Regions from separate parts of the Homo sapiens genome. Here region 2 is linked to region 1. The links are contacts of gene promoters, found by promoter capture Hi-C in blood cells and fetal thymus (Javierre and others, 2016). All regions are on one chromosome and are shown on one strand. The core of a region is centred on a gene start or on the middle of the fragment in contact, and the rest is flanking DNA. Distances in the headings are between cores, read along the strand shown.

What was found. Contacts are between HindIII fragments. The CHiCAGO score rates a contact against its expected background, and 5 or more counts as called.
Region 2: a contact is called between a fragment that was not itself captured here and the fragment with the promoter of NCOR2 in region 1, in 1 of 17 cell types (M0 macrophages). The highest score is 5.4, in M0 macrophages.

The regions. Positions count from the first base shown.
Region 1 is chr12:124,564,647-124,569,472 of GRCh38, forward strand. It overlaps NCOR2 (nuclear receptor corepressor 2), which reads right to left and starts at 2,966. Exons shown (of 49, transcript NM_006312.6): 1 at 2,662-2,966. RefSeq lists silencers at 1,712-1,811, 2,012-2,231, 2,372-2,481, 2,502-2,861, 2,972-3,221 and enhancers at 3,342-3,391, 3,558-4,418, 4,419-4,826. The HindIII fragment of the contact is 7,570 bases long and covers 1-4,826 here.
Region 2 is chr12:124,404,295-124,409,120 of GRCh38, forward strand. All of the region lies in intron 15 of NCOR2 (nuclear receptor corepressor 2), which reads right to left. Among named protein-coding and RNA genes, the nearest start is that of MIR6880, 69 kb to the left of the region's middle. The HindIII fragment of the contact is 3,712 bases long and covers 657-4,368 here.

The DNA.
Region 1 (4,826 bases), core at 1,716-4,215:
GACAGGACCCCAGGAGAACCCTCCGGCTGGGTTCTGCGTAGGTACCACCCCCGCCTCCCATCTCCGAGTGAAGCACCAACTTCTCCACCCACACTCTCAGATGGGGGTTGGGAACACAGAACTATGAATGCGCCCCCTCTCAGCCAGGGGGAAACGGGGCCAGGCAGCCTCCACATCCAGCATGAATGGCAGACGCTGGGGGCCAGGACTCCTGGGGCTAGCTTCCAACTCCCTCGGTGGGTGTCTGCGCTGCCAGCGCCCCCTGCCCCCCACCCCCAGGCCCCGAGAACAATCAAGCCGTCCCCAGCCCAGGGCTTCCATGCAGTAAATTCGTGTTTGCAGAGCTCTGGGAAATCTTTAGGAGGTGGCATGAGTATTATTAATTGGGGAAAAAGAACAGATTATGCCAAATAAATCCTTCCCACATAACCAAACCCTCTCCGAGAGGGGGAGGGGGAGAGCGCAGCCCCAGGAGGGGTCTCCATCCCTCACCAGGGCCTGACAGCCACATTACCATTTACATGGATTTATCAATAGTATTGATCCCCAGCAGCGTAAATAGCTCAGTGGGAAGAGGCCAGGGCTGGGGCCTGCTGCGCTCCCGCCCCCATGTCTGGGCACCGGCACCACAGACTCCCCCGGCACCCGCTGGCGGTGGCAGCAGTGAATTTCCAAGCAGGGACACGGCAGGCGGCTCAGGGAAGCCAGACAGAGCCCGGGATGCCCTGGCAGCCGCGCTGCCGACTCGCCAGTCACCGCTGGCTCCACCCCCCCTTCATTGCTCTGCTGGGCCTGACTCAGTCTTTGCATCTGTTCAATGGGCGGGGGCACCTGCCCTTCTCCATCCTCTCCGGACAAGCAGAGGGGAGTGGGAAAAGGCCCCCTCCCTCCCCCAGATCCCCCCACTGTCCACCCCCAGCCAAAGGTAAGGTGGCCCCTTTTCACAGGGCTTCCAGACCACGTTGGATTAAAGGCCCAATCTTAGAACCCAGGAATAATAATACCGACACAGTAGTCATAGTAACACATACAAGTACCAAGGGATTCTTATGGCCGGACGGTCAGCTCTCACAACCACTCTGTGAACTCAGTACCATTTTGACCCTCATTTTGCAGATGGGAAACCTGACAGGCACAGAGAAGTTAAGCATCTGTCCAGGGTCACACTGCCAGGAAAGTGGCAAAGGTCAGAGTCAAACCCCAGGAGCTGAGGTGCAGAGTGGGCCATCCCACCTCACTGCTGCTTGCCATTTCTCGGCCCCTCCTCAGCACCCCCAAAGAGGCCACCCACGAGGTACACAGCCTGCCCCGGGTCGCCCTCCCGGCGCAGTCTGGCCCGGAGAGCCCCTTATATCAAAGCTGCCGCAAGGACCCAGATCTGGCTGAAAAGGGGCAAAGTCAAGGCCACCGGTAACACATCCCAACGCGCCCAGAACTCCCCCACCCCGCCCACAGGGTCCTCCCCTTATCCCCTCCTCCCCTCTTCCCTCCCTCACACATCCTTCCTCCAAATCTGCAAAAAGGGAAAAATAATAATAATCACAATAAAACCAGTTCTCACCAACGGGGGAGAGGAGGAGGGGGAGGAAGGGAGGAGGCTGAGCCGACAGAACAGATCCGCCCCCGCTGCCTGCACCAGACCCTCGGAGAGCCGGAGCGCGCGACAGGCGGCGGGAGGACACTCGCTTCCAAAAAAATAAACCTACAATGTAAAAATAACGCCGGGCGCCCCACGCTAATTGGGCCCGGGCGACAGCAGCTCCCAGGTACAGCCTGTCTCTCCCTCCCGCCCGCCGTGCCCTCCCGCCCTCGGCTTGCTCCTCCTGCAAGTGTCTGGGGCGGGGAGGGCGTACCCCACGGGTGCCCTCACTCCCCGCAGGCCTCTGAGGAAGCTGCCCTCTAGACAAGGGTCTGGGTCTTCCCAGTCGTGCCCAAGTGGGATCAGCTCTGAATTCCAACTTCGCAAAGTAGTGGCATCCCAAGTATCCGCACAGCCCGGGGGAGGGACTAGGAGGCGGCCCAATGAGGCGTCACCAGCCACGGGAGGCAGGCCCAGACACCAGGAACACCGGCCCGCGGGGGAGGGGGACCAGGGGCGACTCTCCCGAGGGACCCCGCCCAGCGCCCCGTGGCCCCACGCCTAGGAGGGACAAGGCTGGCTCTCCCCCTCGGCTGGTGAGAGACCCTCATGCGCCCCTCCACAACAGCCAGGCCAGGGAGCTAGGGGTACCATCTCCAAGGGCTTTCAAACCCGCGCTGCCCGATGGAAAATAAGGCGCAGTGTCGCCCCGCCAGGTCCGGGGCTACACCGGGTACAAGGGACGCCTGGCGGCCAAGTCCCCAGAGCCGGCGCACACTGTGGGGGGCCGCTCTGTGCATTTCCAGCGCGCCCCCCGCCCACCCCAACGCCACTTCCCTCCTTCCCGCCCCCTCGCTAGGGAGCTGGAGTTCCCCTAAGTTCCCCGGCGCCCCCGAGCACGCGGGCCGCAGTGTCGGCGGGGCGCCTTGCTCCCCAGCAGGCCACCCCCCGAGAGCGCCAACTCGGGAGTGCAGGGGCCCCGCCAACTCCGCCGCGTGCGCCGCCCGATCCTCCCCGGATCCCCCGGAAGCGCGCTCCGCGCCTCCCCCCGCCCTTCGCGGGGACCCTCGGCCCCAACTCACCTCGCGGAGGTGGCAGCGGTGGCGCCCGGGCTTGGGGCGCGCTCGGGCCGCCGGGGCGCTCAGGCAAGTGGCGGTGCCGATCGGGCTGGGGGCGCGCAGCAGGCCCGGCCTCGGGTCGGGACGCGATCCTCCCGCCGCCGCCTCCTAGGGCGCCGGCCCTGGGTCCCCGGCCCGCAAGTTGGCGCGCATCGCGGAGCGCAGGGCGCGGGCGCAGGGCTCGGGCGGGGCGCCGGCGGACGCGGGGCTCCGGTGCGGCCCGGCCTGCCCGCGGCTCCGCGCTCCCCGGCGGCCGCGGCGGCGGTGGCGGCGGCGGCGGCGGCGGCGGCGGCGGGAGGGGGAGGAGGGGGCGGGGCGCGAGCCCGGGAGGCGGTGGCTCGGCCTCCCTGCTCCCGGCTCCCCGCCCGCAGCGACGCGCCCCGGCCCGGCCCCCTCTGGCTCCTTAAAGGGCCCGCGCCTTCTCTCCAGGCCCTGCGCGTCCCCACTCGCGCGCGCACGCCGCCACACACACAGACACGCACGCACACACTTGGGCGCGACGCCGAGTTTCTTTTTGGCAGCTCCCCGAGGAGGAAGGAGGGGGGAAGCGCCTCCCAGCCTTCCCCTCCCTCTTCTCCTGCGGGCCCGGGGGCCCTCCTCCTCCTCTCCAGCCCCAGTACCTCACTGGAATCGCGTTTCAGCTATTAAATTATAACTCTGGAGTGGCCGCTGGATGGGGAGGGGGCGCGCAGGGAGGGCCCTACACAGGGCCTTTTAGGAGCACGCCCAGTGGGGCACTTGGGGACGGGAGCAGACAGTAGCGCAGAGCCCTCTCCAGGCAGGAACACGCTGGGCCTCCCCAGACCCGAGACCCAGCCCGGGCGAACACACTGCAGACTCACCACCCACCACGGACCGGAGATGTCAGATCTCACACAGACAAATACTGGGACACCCACGCGAGTTCACAGCACCCCGGAGGACACAGACGCTAGAATGCCAGTTTCCTGAGGGCAGAGATTTCTATTTTGTTCACTGCCCTATCGCAGTAGGGACTCACGAATGTGTTGAGTGAAGTCCCACTTGGGGACATTCAGGGACACAAATGCGGAGACAATGCAACGAGCCTGTGTCCCCCCCGCCCCCCCCACACACACACACAGACACACACATCCCAAAGCGTGACCCTGGGAGCCACACACGCCCGGCCTGCACAAGCACGCAGTCACAGACGGCACACATGTGCTCGCTCCCCCACGCACAGGCAGACACTCTCCGCTCCAGCAGGAACCTGGCCCCCCTGGCCGCCCTGACAACCCAGTGTCCTCATTTACCCCCTCCTCCCACCCCCTCCAGGTTTGCCCTCTCCAACCAGGGCAGATCTCTTTGAACAGCAGAGGGCACTGGGAGCCCTGGGCCTGGAGCCTCCCTCCCTCCCTCCTCTTCTGCTTTCTCCTAAGATGTTGGAGAGTTTGAATTTTTTTTTTTTTTTTCAGTTCAACTTTCCTTTTTTGGAGTGACGTCTCAGCAGATTCAGTTCTGCCATCTGGCAACATCTGAGAACCCCCAGGGAGAGCGGGGAATGGCTGCGGTGGGGAGGCAGCCGCGTGGTTTCCAGAGGCCGGCGGGCCTCCCGCCTCCGCCAGGATGCTGGGTTTGCCGGGCTCCCCTGCAGCCAGGTCCTTCTCTGCCCCCTCGGGCTTTTAATTATGAGCTTTTGGGGGGCTGGCGGGAGCCTCTGGGGCTGACAATGTCTGGCAAAAGGGAAGTGGGTGTGGAGGGGAGCAGTTTGCAGACTGAAACAGGAGGGGTCATAGGTCAGTGCCCCCCCCCCACCTCCTTGTTTTGGCCCGACCAGCTCCAGTTCTGCCCAGCCAGTCGGTCCGAATCCACAGGCAAAAAGCTGGAGCCGCAGAAGGAAGGCCTGATCCCCCACCTCCCCCACCAAGGGTCTTGGAGAGGGAAGCGGGGGCGGGGGAGCTCCTCTGCCAGCCCCAGGCCGCCTGGCAGCCCTCCTCTGTCACCTGAAAACCCTCTGGGAATTTGCATTTCCATGAGATTCAGCTCTATTTGAAGCTGGAGGAGGGACATTTGGGGTGTCTTCAGGGGTCTCCCAGCTTCTGCCCTCGAGGGCTCCCTGCAGGCTTAGGAGCGGGGAAAGCAGGGGGTCTGTCAGCTTTGTAATGTCC
Region 2 (4,826 bases), core at 1,263-3,762, 160 kb before region 1:
CCTGGCAACAGCCCAGGGCCAGAGTCTGGGCAGGGCCGGGGCTTTTGAATCACACGGGCTTGGTGTCTCCTGAGACCACATTCAGCTACGTCTGTGCCAAGAAGTCCCCACCTGGGCTGTGGCGTCCCTCCCGATGGGAGCAGCAGCCACGGAGCCTCCTTCCCAGAGCATCTGCCCATCAGCCCCTGCACCTAGGCTGGTGGGGGCTCCATGACCCCCTGGGGCCTCACCCATGGACCAACGAATCAGGCTAATGTCTGCTCCGGCATGGCCAGTAAATGCAGCTCCACACCCATCAGGCCGCAGGCAGGGGCCAGTTGGGAGAGGGATGCATCTGGGCCAGGCCCTGAGCTACGAGCCTTCCCCACCGCAGCTCTCCTCCAAGTCCTCAGAAAAGCCCCAAGGAAGAAGAGGCTGGTACAGAGGAGAAAATCCCCACAGATCCCCGAGAGCTGACTATGTGCCCAGCACTGTGCTGTCCATTTTCTATGGGCCGGCTCCTGGCCCCTCTGAAGTCCTGATGGAGATGAAAACGCCACGAGTAACACCCCTGCACCATGCCAAGTGCTTTGCAAACACTATCCCAGCCTCAGAAACAGGAGAGCAGTGATCACTGGTCACATTCTGCAGAGGAGGAAACAGGCTCAGAGAGGCAAAGCTTCGAGGTCTCGGAGCAAAGGCTGACGGCCCAGAGTGTGGGGGATGGGGCCCTGCTGCCCCCAGAGCCCCCGCTGAGAGTCTCAGCCAACCCCCAGCCAGGATCTACAGTTTGTGTTCTGCAGACTTGCCAGCACGCCCCATCTACCTATCCCTACCTGCCTCCCACTCCAGACTCTACAAGCCCCGCCAGGGCCTGCCCACAACCCCCTCGCTCCTGGAACGTCACCCCCTATGTCTCCATATTCGATCGCTCATGGCACCACGTGCCTGGCTCCGTCCCACATGGTCTCCCCTACCCACCCACCTGTCCATCTTACAGAACAGGAAACTGAGGCACCGAGTGCAATCCTGGCACCAAGCCTTGCCGCCTCCTCTTCCCTGACATGTTAACAAGCCCCCAGGGCAGGGGTGCCTTCCACCCTCACCCTCTGGTTGGAGTGGGTGCAGCAACACCCACTAGCACAGCACCTTCTGGGCCACCCTGCAGCCAAGGCCTAGGGCCCTGTGCACAGGCTCCTCACTTCCTGTGGCCTCAACATCTCCTGTGGGAGAGGCATCCCTGCAGCCCACGCTGAGTGAGTCCGGTGGGGGAAGATGAAAAGGAGGAATAGCAGAGCAGCCCTGGCCTTAAAATATGCTTTCCAGTGGGACAGACCCCGGCAGCCTTAATGATGAACATCTGCAGGGTCTCGCAGTGGCCACCCGGGAGGCCGAGGGACTGATTGAGGGCCGCTCATACTCGCTGCTGGGAGATTATGCAGGGAGAGGGAGGTCCCAGCTCACAACTCCCCCTGAGGAGCTGGGGGGACCCGGCAGCCGGCTCAGCCCCCAAAGCCTTCTATGTTTTAGGGCAGCAAGTGCAGCAGCCGACACTGGCGAGGCTGGGCTGCTGGGTCTTGGGCCTGTCCATAGAGCGGCAGAACTGCACCTGCTGGGCTTCCCGGGCCACTGGGGGCCATGGTTCTCAAGGTCCCATGACATTGGCTGCACACTCAGATCTCGTGGGGAGCCCTGCGAAGTCCTGATGCCCAGGCCGCACCCCACACCAATGACATCCAAATCTCTGGGCGGAGACCCAGGCGTTCGTATGTTAAATTCCAGGTTATCCCGATGGGCAGCCAGATTTGAGAACCAGTGCTTTACCAGGGACTGGCAAACGTTTTCTGTAAGGGCCAGAGGATAAGTATGCCGTCTCTGTCAACCCCCTTCTCAATTCTGCCACTGTCTTGTGAAAGCGGCCCTTATATCAACAAAAGGGCACGGCTGTGTGCCAATAAAACTTTATTTACAAAAGCAGGTGGTGGGCCGGATTTGGCCTGTGGGCTTTCGTTAGAGCACTCTGCTCCAGGCCAGTGTTACCCACACCTGCAGGTGCACACACATCCCCTGCCAATTCCCACTCAGTCGGTCTGGGGTGGGGCCTGGGACTCTGCATTTCTAACCTGCGCCAGGAGAAGCTGCCACGGCTGGCCTCAGATCCCACTGAGGAGTGAGGCCTTCAAGAATCCTTGTCTCACAAGGCACATAAAGGACTCTGTGCAGCAGAAAACGCCTGTGGGCACCATTCCCTCAACGTGAGGGGACTGAAAGGAGAATCAGAAAGAACTAGAAGCCAGCTCCACTATCTCAAAGGACCCCGCCCTCGTGGTGGAGGGCTACCTCTGCCTTTCAGATGTGCCACTGGTCAGGCTGACAGTGGGTTTGTGCCCTGTGCGTGGTCAGAAACATCCCCCCAAACCACAGTACAACTCTGTGACAAACCCTACTGGATCTATGGTTAGCCAGAGCCACTGGCCCAAAGCCCCAAGAGACACCTGCCCCCAGATCTGGACACTGAACCCATAACCCTCAGCCTGCCAGACAAGCAGCACATGACTGGGCCTGTGCAGAAGCCCCAGACTGGGGGCTATGCAGAAAAATATCTTAATTAAAAACAGCAAAAGCTCGCTGAGCACATTTGATGAGGCCTTCTTCTCCTAATCACTTCCTACCTGTTATTTGAATCCTCCCAACAACTGGTATCATCCCAGTTTTATGGATGAGAATGCAAAGACAGAGGGAGTTTAAGTAACTCATCCAAGGTCACACAGCATTTCCTAGAAGGTCCTACAGCCAGGTGCCCTACCTCCGCCCTGGGCTGGGGGTTCACAGCCTCCTCCCTATGCCCATTTAAACCAAATGATGCCATTGCCTGATTCTTTCCTTCCGCCAGCATAACCTGAACCCCCAAGGGGCACACCAGCCACAGAAAGATGTGGCCCCCAACTGTATGGAGCTTGTATTTAGGTTGACAAAGACAGGCCAGATGGAGGCGCCGGTGACGAGGACACATTCAAAAGGCACATTCATGATGCAGATGAGGCAGCAAGGCGTGCTGACATGCAGGGCGAGGGAAGGGGCTTTGGCAGAGCAGGAGGCCTCTGCGGCATGGCAATGGGAAAATGGCCCCTGTGCCTACCAAGTGGCACTTTGGGGCATGGCTGGAGGGCCTGGCCAGGGCTAACACCCATGCTCAGAAATACAGGAGGCATTCTGAGGGCGGTGGGAGCCCCCGGGGACCTTTCTCAAAAGGTGCAGGGGTCGCAGGGAGTCACATGACCCACCCCATGTTAAAGAGCAATCCAATAGCAGGTCGCAGGAAGGAAGACGGTGGATTCCGGGAATGAGAGGAGACAGTCCAGTGAGAAGGTGCTGCGACCACCCACGTAGGGGTTGATGAGATTTAATTCTCAGATGCTAAGTCCTTACAAATGTGTCAGGAGAACTTCCCAAAACCCAGCAACACCGTCTGTGGCTCAATCTCATGCACTCATTCAACAAACACTTCACTGAGCATCTACCATGTGCCAGGTGCCCCTGAGAGGGCGCATCCTCATGACACCTTCCACCTCCTGGCAGTGTAGGGATGGGGATTCCAGGAGCCTGGGGTTGGTGTGGAAAGTGGGGCCAGGGGTCAGAGCCGAGGCAGAACAGGGTTCCCTGTTGCTGGCAGCTCTTCCCTAACACCTGCTCTCTGTCCCTCGGATTCAGTCTCCTGTCCTTGCTGGGGAAAATGCAGTCAGGGGAGGCCATCTCAGTGCGTTTAAGGGTTGTCTTTTTATAAGATATACCAAGGCGTGGCGGGGCGCGGTGGCTCACGCCTGTAATCCCAGCACTTTGGGAGGCCGAGGCCGGCGGATCATGAGGTCAGGAAATCGAGACCATCCTGGCTAACACGGTGAAACCCCATCTCTACTAAAAATACAAACAATTAGCTGGGCTTGGTGGCGGGCGCCTGTAGTCCCAGCTACTCAGGAGGCTGAGGCAGGAGAATGGTGTGAACCCGGGAGGCGGAGCTTGCAGTGAGCCAAGATCGCGCCACTGCACTGCAGCCTGGGTGACAGAGTGAGACTCTGTCTCAAACAAAAATAAATAAAAAAAGATATACCAAGGCGTGCTGGAGCCAGTGGCTACCAGCTCATGGCCATTATTAAAAATGGAAACACTTAACCTTACAATTAAAGAAATTATGGCCTGGCAAGGTAACTCACACTTGTAATCTCAGTGCTTTGGGAGGGCCAGGCAGGAGGATTGTCTAGGGCTCGGAGTTCAGACCAGCCTGGGCAACACAGTGAGACCCTGTCACTACAAATTAGCTGGTGGTGCTAATTTTAATTAGGTGGTGCATCCCTGTAGTCCCAGCTACTCAGGAGGCTAAGGTGGGAGGAAAGCTTAAACCTGGGAGATCAAGGCTGCAGCGAGCTTCAACTGCACCACTGCACTCTAGCCTGGGTGACAGAGCGAGACTCCATCTCTAAAAAAATAATAAATTTTTTTTAAAGAAAGAAAGCGAAGGTTACAAGCACTCCAAGGGCATTGCTTCCTGATCATCTGGCTACATGGAGCTACGAAGTCATCCGTGCCGTGGAGGTGACTTCCGCCAACTCCATGCACAGGGTGAGAACAGGATAAGACAGCCTGGTGCTAGGGGCATCTTTCCCCAGTTCCAAGTCAGCGGCAGCACGTTGTCACGTGGCACTGGGCACGGTGAGAGGATTTATTTACACCATGGCAACCGGCACATGCTACAAACGCAGCTTCCCCCTACAGAAAGCTGGTTGTTAAACATTTACCAGCACTCTACGGCAGAAAGATGCGTGTCGACAGAACGTGAGCAACATTTAACA